3 separate regions of the Homo sapiens genome follow, and regions 1 and 3 are each linked to region 2. Evidence: promoter capture Hi-C in human tissues and cell types (Jung and others, 2019). All regions are on one chromosome and are shown on one strand. Each heading gives the region's core, a stretch centred on a gene start or on the middle of the fragment in contact. The rest is flanking DNA. Distances are from core to core; before and after follow the strand shown.

Region 1 (3,482 bases), core at 106-2,605, 290 kb before region 2:
AAGAAAATTTGGTAGGCCTATTATCAATTTAAATAGGTCAGCCTCCATGACAAGGGAGAATACTCTAATATTTGTATTCTTCAAAACACATATTGTTACCTCTCCCCGCCTATCAGCTTACAATTGGTTGTTCAGTCCTCTAGGGTGCCATTAGCACTTATTTATGGCTCTTTCAGCACATATACTACAGTGAAATCCAACTCTTCTGCTAATTTGTGAGAGCATTCTTTCTATATCTGTGCACATCCTAGATTCTCAATTAAACATTTATTCAATTCACTGTACTTTCACTTATTTATGCTTTTTTGATGACCCCAACATAACTGTTCTTTTCTAGTCATGATAAATGATTAAATGATACTCAATGTTTCAAGAAATGACACTCAACGACTAAATGATATTCAATGTCTCACAAAACACTGAACCCACAAAGCTTTACAAATCCTACAAATCCATGCATCCAGCATCCTTGCTCATCTTCAGGAGGCAATTTCCAAGAAAAATGGGAGCTGGAAAGTTAGAGAAAGCTTATTAAGTTTATTAAGGCTCTGGCACTCATTTTCTATCGCATGGTACTGCATTTCTTTTCTTTTCTTTTTTTAAGACGGAGTCTTGCTCTTGTTGCCCAGACTGGAGGGCAATGGCGGGATTTCGGCTCACTGCAACCTCCACCTCTTGGATTCAAGCGATTCTCCTGTCTCAGCCTCCCGAGTAGCTGGGATTAAGGGCGCCCGCCTCCATGCCCAGCTAATTTTTTGTATTTTTAGTGGAGACGGGGTTTCATCATGTTGGCCAGGCTGGTCTCGAACTCCTGACCTCAGGTGATCCACCCGCCTCGGCCTCCCAAAATGCTGGGATTACAGGCGTGAGCCACCGTGCCTGGCCGGTACTGCATTTCTTTGAAGGGTACTGCATAGACAGGGCATCTCCAGACAGAAAAAGTCTAGCCTGGAAGCTACCTCTTCAAACACTGGGCCACCTTCATCCCTCTTTTCTGCCAGCTTTAAATAGACACGTGAAGGTTCCTAAACATAGAAGTCCTTGCCTACCTATCTGGATATCTTGAAGTGAAACACCAAGATAAAGAGAACAGTCAGCCCAAACAGCTCATTGGTCTATTACTACCTCAAGAACTGGCATATGAAAATTCAAATCAGGCCAGGCACGTTGGCTCAAGCCTGTAATCCCAGCACTTTGGGAAGCCGAGGCAGATGGGTCACCTGAGGTCAGGAGTTCGAGACCAGCCTGGCCAACATGGTGAAACTCCCCCTCTACTAAAAATACAAAACTTAGCCAGGCGTGGTGGTGGGCACCTGTAATCCCAGCTACTTGGGAGGCTGAGGCAAGAGAATCACTTGAACCCGGGAGGCGGAGGTTGCAGTGAGCCAAGATCGTGCCACTGCACTCCAGCCTGGACAACAAGAGGGAAACTCCTTCTCAAAAAAAAAGAAAATTCAAATGAGTAACACCAAGTAACAGTTTTATAAATTTAGTAGCACTGGAAAGACTGGATCAAGAGGGTTAGCTGAAAACCCACCACTGCCTCCTCCCTACTCCAATGATTAATAATGAGAACAGATTTTTATATAAAAGGACTATATAGAAAAACAAAAAGGGGTCTAATTGGTAGATGAGAATTAAAAGAATACCACAGTGAGACATTTCAAAATTTATTTATTTATAAGTGCCATGTAATAATTGTACATGTTTATAGGGTGCAGTGTAGTGTTTCAATGCATGTACACACTGTATAATGATCAAACTGGGGTAATTACCACACCCATTACTTTAAACATCATTTCTTTGTGGTGATAATATCGGAAATCTTCTCTTCTAGCTATCCTGAAATACGCACGACATTGTTATTTGCTATCGTCACCATAGTTTGTAATAGAACACCAGAACTTATTCATGTCTAACTTTTTCTTCTTTTAAAGAGATGGGGTCTCCCTGTGTTGCCCAAGTTGGCCTTGAACTCCTGGGTTCAGGCGATCCTCCTGCCTCAGATTCCCGAGTAGCTGGAACTGCAGCCCTGTGCCACCACAGTACCTGACTTAAATGAAACTTTGTACCCTTTAACTAACCTCTCCTGGTCCCCCTCTCCTTCCTACCATCTCTAGCCCCTGGTAACCACTATTCTACTCTCTACTTCTATAAAATCAATTTTTTTAGATTCTACTTATGAGTAAGATCATGTGATGTTTGTTCTGTGCCTGGCTTACTTCACTTAACATAATATTTATTGTCCAGGTTCATCCATGTCACCACAAATGGCAGGATTTCATTCTGTTTTACAGCTGAATAAAATTCCCATTGGTATATTTACATTTTTCTTATCCATTCATCTGTAGATAAGCATTGATTCCACATTTTTTCTACTGTGAATAGCACTGCAATTAACACAGATATGCAGAGGTCTCTTTGACACGCTGATTTCATTTCCTTTGGATATATACCCAGTAATGGGATTGCTGGATCATATGGTAGTTCTATTTTTAATTTTTTGAGGAACCTCCATAATGTTTCCATAATGGCTGTACCAATTTACATTCCCATCAACAGTGTGCAAGAGTTCCCTTTTCTCAGTATCCTCACCAGCATTTGCTAGTTTTTGTTTTTTTTTTTTTTTTAATGGCTAAGTTGGAAAGTGGCTCACCGTATGCTACACATTTCCACTATGTCGGATCTCACTTCTAGTTTCCAGCTGAGCCATCTGAGGTGACTGGGCAAGTCCTTTCTCTGAATGTTTCATTTCCCATAAACGAGAAAATAGGTGGAGGGCCTTAGAGAGTTTTGATGTGAATAACAGCTATTAGATATCATCAAGAGCTTTTTCTCCAGACGACACTGACACAGGCACACTGGGTTCTGCTTTCCTTATATCCCCCTTCTGAGCCCAGGCCCTGTTCCTCTCACTTTCAATCCCAATTCGGGCTTCAAAGGACTAGCAAAAGGAGTCCTTTTAATAATATCTAGTGCTCCTTTGTCCTGAAATCTGGCTAAGGGAAGATTTCAGGGCCTCAGCTGGTTGAGGAATGGTAGAGACAATCCATCCTTGCCCATCTACGCACCCAAGCCCAGAGCAAGTGTGTACTTGGGGCTCGCTGGTACCTAGATGTGCAAGGTCACTCTACCAGGGCCCCTGTGAAGGAATGGGATCCCTATTTTCTGTCTTTTTTATAATAGTCAATCTAATTGGGGTGAGGTGATATCCCATTGTGATTCTGACTGGCATTTCTCTAATGATTAGTGATGTTGAGCTTTTTTTTAAGTATCTCTTGGCCAATTCTATGTCTTCTTTTGAGAAATGTCTATTCAGAGCTTTCATTTTTTTAATTATTTACTTGGTTTTTGTTTGTTTTGTTTTTGTTTGTTTTTGCTATTGAGTTGTGTGAGTTGCTTGTATATTCTGGATATTAACCTCTTGTCAGATGCATAGTTTGCAAATAGTTTCTCCTATTGTATAGGTTGTCTCTTCACTC
Region 2 (3,572 bases), core at 434-2,933:
CCCAGCCATGTTTAGGAAAATACTTGAAGGCTTCTGCGGTGAGAGTGCTACCTGGTAAGGGCGTATGGACACACGTGGAGGGCAAGAAATGAATTTGGGTCTGGTGCCGAAACATCTTTCCACTGCTGTGATTTTGTTTTCTGGTCAGAGTAATAATGCTCGTTGTAAAATAAATAAATAAATAATACATAAAAAGGAAAAGGAAAATTCAGAGAAAATGAAAACAACTCGTAATCAACGTGCTTTTTGGATGTGAACTGCTCCCTTTGGGAGGGCAATGGAGAAGTGAGGACGCACTGGGTATCTGGCCCGGAACAGCCGGCAGTGGGTACACCCTGCCTGGTGAATTCGACCGGGGTTTTGGGGGACCCGCCACCCAAGGGCCGAAGAGCAGGGCCGCCCTACGGGCGCTCCCATTTGGCCACCTGAGTGGCGACTTGGCGCCTTCCTCGGAGCAGCTCCGGGGTTCCGTCGTCCCGGTTCCCACTGGTCCCTTACGCAGAGACCAAAGGCAGGAACCTTCCCTCGTAACTATCCACCGACTGAAAATAGATTCTGAGTCCGCCCCCGCCCCTCCCCCCTTAAAATCCTCCCCACTCTTAAAATCCTCCCCTTTAAAGGGAGCCACAGGGTGACGCCGGGGGAGTTTGCGGAAGCGCTAACCGCGTTGGGGCCTAGGGCGGATCCCGTGATTGGGACAGGCCCCGCCCCCGGCTCCACTTCCCCCATTGTGTGAGCGGCTCGGGCCTAGGCCCCGCCCCCCTCCGGAGGCCCGGCCACTCCCCTTTTCCACCCCCCCTTGGCTCATTTCCGGCCGCCGCCGCTACCGCTAGCCTGTAAGGAGGATTCGGCAGAGGGAAGAAACAACAGCCGCCATCTTGTTTGTGTGCTAGGCTGGGGGGGAGAGAGGGCGAGAGAGAGCGGGCGAGAGTGGGCAAGCAGGACGCCGGGCTGAGTGCTAACTGCGGGAGCCAGAGAGTGCGGAGGGGAGTCGGGTCGGAGAGAGGCGGCAGGGGCCGAGACAGTGGCAGGGGGCCCGGGGCGCACGGGCTGAGGCGACCCCCAGCCCCCTCCCGTCCGCACACACCCCCACCGCGGTCCAGCAGCCGGGCCGGCGTCGACGCCTAGGGGGGACCATTACATAACCCCGCGCCCCGCGGCGTCTTCTCCCGCCGCCGCGGGCGGCCCCGAACGGAGCCCCGGGGGGCGGGCGCTCCCAGCACCTGGCCGCCGGCGGTGGGGGCCGTAGCAGCGGCCGTATTTATTTATTTTCCGCGGGAAAGGAAGGCGAAGGAGGGGAGCGCGGCGCGAGGAGGGGCCGCCTGCGCCGCCGCCGGAGCGGGGCCTCCTCGGTGGGCTCCGCGTCGGCGCGGGCGTGCGGGCGGCGCTGCTCGGCCCGGCCCCCTCGGCCCTCTGGTCCGGCCAGCTCCGCTCCCGGCGTCCTTGCCGCGCCTCCGCCGGCCGCCGCGCGATGTGAGGCGGCGGCGCCAGCCTGGCTCTCGGCTCGGGCGAGTTCTCTGCGGCCATTAGGGGCCGGTGCGGCGGCGGCGGCGCGGAGCGCGGCGGCAGGAGGAGGGTTCGGAGGGTGGGGGCGCAGGCCCGGGAGGGGGCACCGGGAGGAGGTGAGTGTCTCTTGTCGCCTCCTCCTCTCCCCCCTTTTCGCCCCCGCCTCCTTGTGGCGATGAGAAGGAGGAGGACAGCGCCGAGGAGGAAGAGGTTGATGGCGGCGGCGGAGCTCCGAGAGACCTCGGCTGGGCAGGGGCCGGCCGTGGCGGGCCGGGGACTGCGCCTCTAGAGCCGCGAGTTCTCGGGAATTCGCCGCAGCGGACGCGCTCGGCGAATTTGTGCTCTTGTGCCCTCCTCCGGGCTTGGGCCCAGGCCCGGCCCCTCGCACTTGCCCTTACCTTTTCTATCGAGTCCGCATCCCTCTCCAGCCACTGCGACCCGGCGAAGAGAAAAAGGAACTTCCCCCACCCCCTCGGGTGCCGTCGGAGCCCCCCAGCCCACCCCTGGGTGCGGCGCGGGGACCCCGGGCCGAAGAAGAGATTTCCTGAGGATTCTGGTTTTCCTCGCTTGTATCTCCGAAAGAATTAAAAATGGCCGAGAATGTGGTGGAACCGGGGCCGCCTTCAGCCAAGCGGCCTAAACTCTCATCTCCGGCCCTCTCGGCGTCCGCCAGCGATGGCACAGGTTAGTTTCGGCAGCCCCGGCCTTCCACGTTCCCTTTAATCTTTTCTACTCGGTGCGCCTTTATTCTTCCATTTTTTTTTTCTTCCTCTCTCTCTAGTTCCCTGCCCCTTAATTAATTTTAAAGGTATTTGAATGAGCTGGTCGAAGACGTCCAGTAGCCCAACCATTTTCTTTGCCTCCTAATACATTGATTGCAACACTATGTCATATCGGTGTGTGTTCTGGAATTAGAGCTCGTAAGTGGGTGCTATATAGAAATGGCCTGTATTGTTGCTCTCATGCAATTTAATTTGGGAAATGCCAATGCATTTGTGTGTAAGAGCTCCTATGCAATTTAAGTTTCATTTTTTTTGTTCTTGGCAAATGAATTTCGAATCCTTTCTCTTTACTGTACTTACTGTGTTTCCTCTACTTTCCACTCTTCGAAATTTTCTCTCCTTTGCAGAATATTTTCTGTTGAGGAATAGGGTGTAAAAAAATCTTGATTTTGTGTGTGCGAGGTCCAAGATTTCAGGTTAGAGGTGAAGTTTAACAATTCTTTTATCTTACCTACCATTCTTAGCTTTTTTTTCCTTTTTCTTCTTATTTGCTTTAAGAATCAATATGGAGCGCAGTTCATTTCACATCTCCCAGTTCTTTGGTGTGAGACCAAAATGTCTGAAACTCTGGGTTTTTAGGTTGGGAGAACAGGGGCATGTTCTTTGCAGTTTGCAGTCACTTTCTCATTTTAGGGGAAATAAGATAAACAATTTTGTGGAGTTACGTACCTGGAAATCAAGGTTAGAAGTTGAAAGAGTTCCAATCATGAACTACAAACGTGAACTGATTGTACAAAAGTTTAAAATGTGCATTAGGTTTGGTGTTTGTGTGTGTCTTTGTCTTTTTACACTTTTAAACATACTTGGAGATCAAGATTTTCGTTTAAAAGCTTTACGACCAGTTCATTCAGTTGTGGACTAGCTCCTTTGTCAGGAGAAGTTCAGGGAGACTTCTTCCATCATCCCTTCATTCTTTTCTTACAGTTAGTTTAATGGTGTTATCCTGATGGGTAAGGACCTTTTCTTTGCTGGGATAATGAAGATGAAGAATGGCTGGCCATCTGACAGTCCACAAGATGTTCCCCTTTACTACGGAGCATCTCTTTAACTCCCTGAGAGCAGGCTCAGCGTCATCCCTCCATCTGCCAGTGAGAGTGCATAATGGAGTTAAATGTACCCTTTGAGTTTGTAGAGAACTTCGAGAGCATGTTTCTAAATAGGCTTCATTTCAGAGGGTGAAAATGGGAAGACAGAGCTAATGCTTTGAATTCGTTGCTTTTATAAGAAAGATGTGAAATGAATTTAAGTTAACCTGCAAAAATTGAGAAGTAGGAATCTTGCGAG
Region 3 (3,369 bases), core at 139-2,638, 270 kb before region 2:
TGAATTAGGCATTTTCATGAAATGCTGTGTCACTTAATTCTCTAAACTCTGTGAGGTAGGTATCACTTCCCCCACTTTACAGATTAAGAAAGTAAGGTTTACAGGGCATCTAGCTAACAAATGATGGAGTTAGGGTTAAATCCAGATTAGTCTACAGAGAAGGTGAGCTCTCAGTGAAGTTTCTGGAGGCTAAACAGAGGATTCAGTGATGTTCCTCTGAAGTCACAGTGATTTTAACAGCTAAAGGTGTGTGCTAACAACTGGTGAAGAATATGAGAAAAGGCAGTCAAAGAGATAAAAGAACCACAAGAGGAGTCACCCAAGCCAAAAGTGGAAAGTTTTAAGGAAAAGAGGGGAGAGGGGAAGTGTCAAGTGGAACCTAGACACCAGAAGCCCAAGAATCAAGCGTATACCTCATAACAAACCACACTTGTGGTAGACAGGAACCCAGATCTTGATTTAGAAAGAAAGAAAAAAAAGCCAGGCACAGTGGCTCATGCCAGCAGTTTAGGACGCCAAATCGAGAGGATCGTTTGAGGCCAGGAATTCGAGACCAGCCTGGGCAACACTGCCAGACCCCAAAAATTTTTTTTAAAAATGTAGCCGGGTGTGGTGGCTCACACCTGCAGTCCCAGCTACTCAGGAAGCTGAGGTGGGCGGATCGCTGGAGCCCGGGAGATCGAGGCTGCAGTGAGTCGTGATCGCGCCACTGCACTCCAGCTTGGGCAACAGAGCAAGACCCTGTCCGGAAAAAAAAAAAAAAAAAAAAGGATCTATCTTCTCCTGCCAATAACGGTGCCCAGAGCTATCCTACTAGGTATTGCCACTTGCCCGCGGCAAGCGTGAAGACAGGCTGTAGGGAAGCATGTGACTAAGCAACACGGCTTCACACCTACGTTCTCCTCCGGGCCAGTAAAGCAAAGTGTGTGAGTGTGCGGTGGTAGCCTGACCTTAAACTTCCCACGGCAAAGATGCGGACCCTGAGCGGGCACGTGTGAACACGGCTCTCTACCCCGCAGTCTCTAGGAGACCAGGAGGTGGCGGAGTCTCGGCCCTTACCCCGAATTCCTCCAACAACTTTCCGCCAATGGCCCATTCCTCTCTGCCCCACAGTCATGACAGTGGACCCCAACCCACACTACCTCCCTCTCAGACCCATCCCTCAGGCATATCCCGGGACTGGCCCCCGAGAAGCCTTATAACCCGTTGCGGCCCGGGCGTAAAGACCCCGTCTCACCACGGCTCCGGCCACGGCGTGGACCAGGCTTTCGTAGGACAGCACGGAAGCCATTGGTGCGGCTCCTCGAAGACCCAGCCACACTTTTCCCACAGATGCCGCAGCCAGTGGAGTTAGGAAAGGAGCACCGGAGCTCAGGGTGTGAGAGTCGCAATCCCCGCCCTCTCAAACCCGCCCGCCTGCCCTAGAACCACTTCCGGGTCGCGGGGCGGGAAAGCGGGGGGGGGGGGGCGGCTAAGAACGCCCCTGAACGCTGATTGGCCCCTGTGGGCGCGGGGCGGGACAGCGAGGTGTTCGCGGGGCTGGGCTCCAAGGCGCAAGGCGGCCTGACACCAGGTACCCGGCTCCCGGTTCCTCCGACGTTCTCTGGCGTTCCCGGGCCCTGACCAGTTCCTCCATCTCAGAAGTCTTAATGGCCTTCTTTTACTCTGGTGACAAAGATGGGGAAACTCAATGAGACTCCAGTCTCCCTGTTTCTCTGCGCCTGAGCTCTTTTCTATTCTGAAAGTCACATTTTGGCCAAGAGGAAAAAAACTCACTTGTGGACTTGGAAACTTCTTCCTCCAGAAAAACCCTTGAGTGTGGTGGGAAGAGATGTTGAGCATCAGGAGCCCAAAATACAAGACGCGAGTGGGAGCCTCCCCCTAGTTGGCAACTATGGAAGTCATTTAACCTCTTGGGTTTCCTCTGTGAAATGACAATGTACTAGTACCAACAATCCCCATCTGCTGTGAGGATTACGAAAGCCAATTTATGTAGTAGTACTTCATAAAATACTGAAGGAAAAAAATTTTTTTCCATGTTGCAAAGTGACTAACAAAATTACACAAAACTAAAGCAGCCACATTCAGCTTTAACCTGTCATACTGTGAGATTCTGCTTCAGGATGCTCCTCAGGGACTCAGGGATTCTTTCCTGAGACACCATCACCACTTGTCTTTACCATGTTTCCTTTTAGAATATCCTCGTGATAACTCCTCAGTGCTGACTACATGCCAGGCTTAGTGTTTTATGCCCATCATCACACTTAATCCCTGGGAGAGGGGTCTAACAAAGTTTAACCTGGCCGTTTTCACAAAATTTGCAGAAGATACTGCTTCCAGGAACATTCCCATCACGCCATAGAATCATGACGTGAAAGTGAAGGACCAAAAGTGAAGCGAAGATGATTTTGGGCTGGGCGCAGCGGCTCAGGCCTGTAATCCTAGCACTTTGGGAGGCCGTAGCGGGCAGATCACTTGAGGTCAGAAGTTTGAGACAAGCCTGGCCCATATGGCAAAACCCTGTCTCTATTAAAAATAGAAAAAATTAGCCGGACATGGTGGCACGCGCCTTGTAGAAATTACAATGTTGAAACTGCAGCTACTAGGGAGGCTGAGGCAGGAGAATCGCTTGAACCCAGGAAGCAAAGGTTGCAGTGAGCCAAGATTGCACCACTGCACTCTAGCCTGGGACAGAGTGAGACTCCTAAAAAAAAAAAAAAAAAGATTATTTTGGCATGGGAACATAGAAACTAGTTGGCTGTAAAACTTGAGAACTCAGTTCTCATTGACTCCTGATCAAATTGGGAGCTTGCTGTCAAGAATATACTGGATTATGCATCATAGTTATGAAAACATTGTTAATACTTTGTTTTGACGTTTTTGTATCTTACATACCAAAAACATTTTGATCAGCTTTTTTTTTTTTTTAAACCTGAGACAGTGTTTCTCTGCGTTGTCCAGGCTGGTCTTGTACTCCTGGGCTCAAGTGATCCACCTGCTTCAGCCACCCAAAGTGCTCGTATTACAGGCATGAGCCACTGTACCGGGCCTTGCAACCTTTTTTTTTTTTTTCAGATGGAGTTTCACTCTTGTGGCCCAGGCTTGGCTCACTGCAACCTCCGCCTCCCGGGTTCAAGTGATTCTCCTACCTCAGCCTCTCGAGTAGCTGGGATTACAGGCATGCGCTACCACGCCCAGCTAATTTTTGTATTTTTAGTAGAGACGGGGTTTCATCATGTTGGTCAGGATGGTCTCAAATCTCTTGACCTCGTGGTCCGCCCGCCTCGGCCTCCCAAAGTGCTGGGATTACAGGTGTGAGCCACAGCGCCCAGCATGATCAACTGAAGACTGACATACTGAAAACAGTAT

Evidence for each region. The method cuts DNA at HindIII sites, captures the fragments that hold promoters and counts their contacts. A contact is called where the count stands out against the background at its distance.
Region 1: a fragment that was not itself captured here is called in contact with the fragment with the promoter of EP300 in region 2 in 2 of the 25 tissues and cell types used here (IMR-90 fibroblasts and lymphoblastoid cells).
Region 3: a contact is called between the fragment with the promoter of SLC25A17 here and the fragment with the promoter of EP300 in region 2, in 1 of the 25 tissues and cell types used here (adrenal gland).

What each region holds. Positions count from the first base shown.
Region 1 is chr22:40,801,207-40,804,688 of GRCh38, forward strand. The region is part of intron 1 of SLC25A17 (solute carrier family 25 member 17); the gene reads right to left. Among named protein-coding and RNA genes, the nearest start is that of MIR4766, 11 kb to the right of the region's middle. The HindIII fragment of the contact is 6,915 bases long and covers 1-3,482 here.
Region 2 is chr22:41,090,909-41,094,480 of GRCh38, forward strand. It overlaps EP300 (EP300 lysine acetyltransferase), which reads left to right and starts at 1,684. Exons shown (of 31, transcript NM_001429.4): 1 at 1,684-2,190. The coding sequence starts at 2,097. It overlaps MIR1281 (microRNA 1281), which reads left to right and starts at 1,605; the gene lies at 1,605-1,658. RefSeq lists silencers at 585-874, 975-1,744, 1,925-2,024 and an enhancer at 2,135-2,374. The HindIII fragment of the contact is 16,440 bases long and covers 1-3,572 here.
Region 3 is chr22:40,817,958-40,821,326 of GRCh38, forward strand. SLC25A17 (solute carrier family 25 member 17) reads right to left here and starts at 1,389. Exons shown (of 9, transcript NM_006358.4): 1 at 1,238-1,389. The coding sequence starts at 1,291. The HindIII fragment of the contact is 14,485 bases long and covers 1-3,369 here.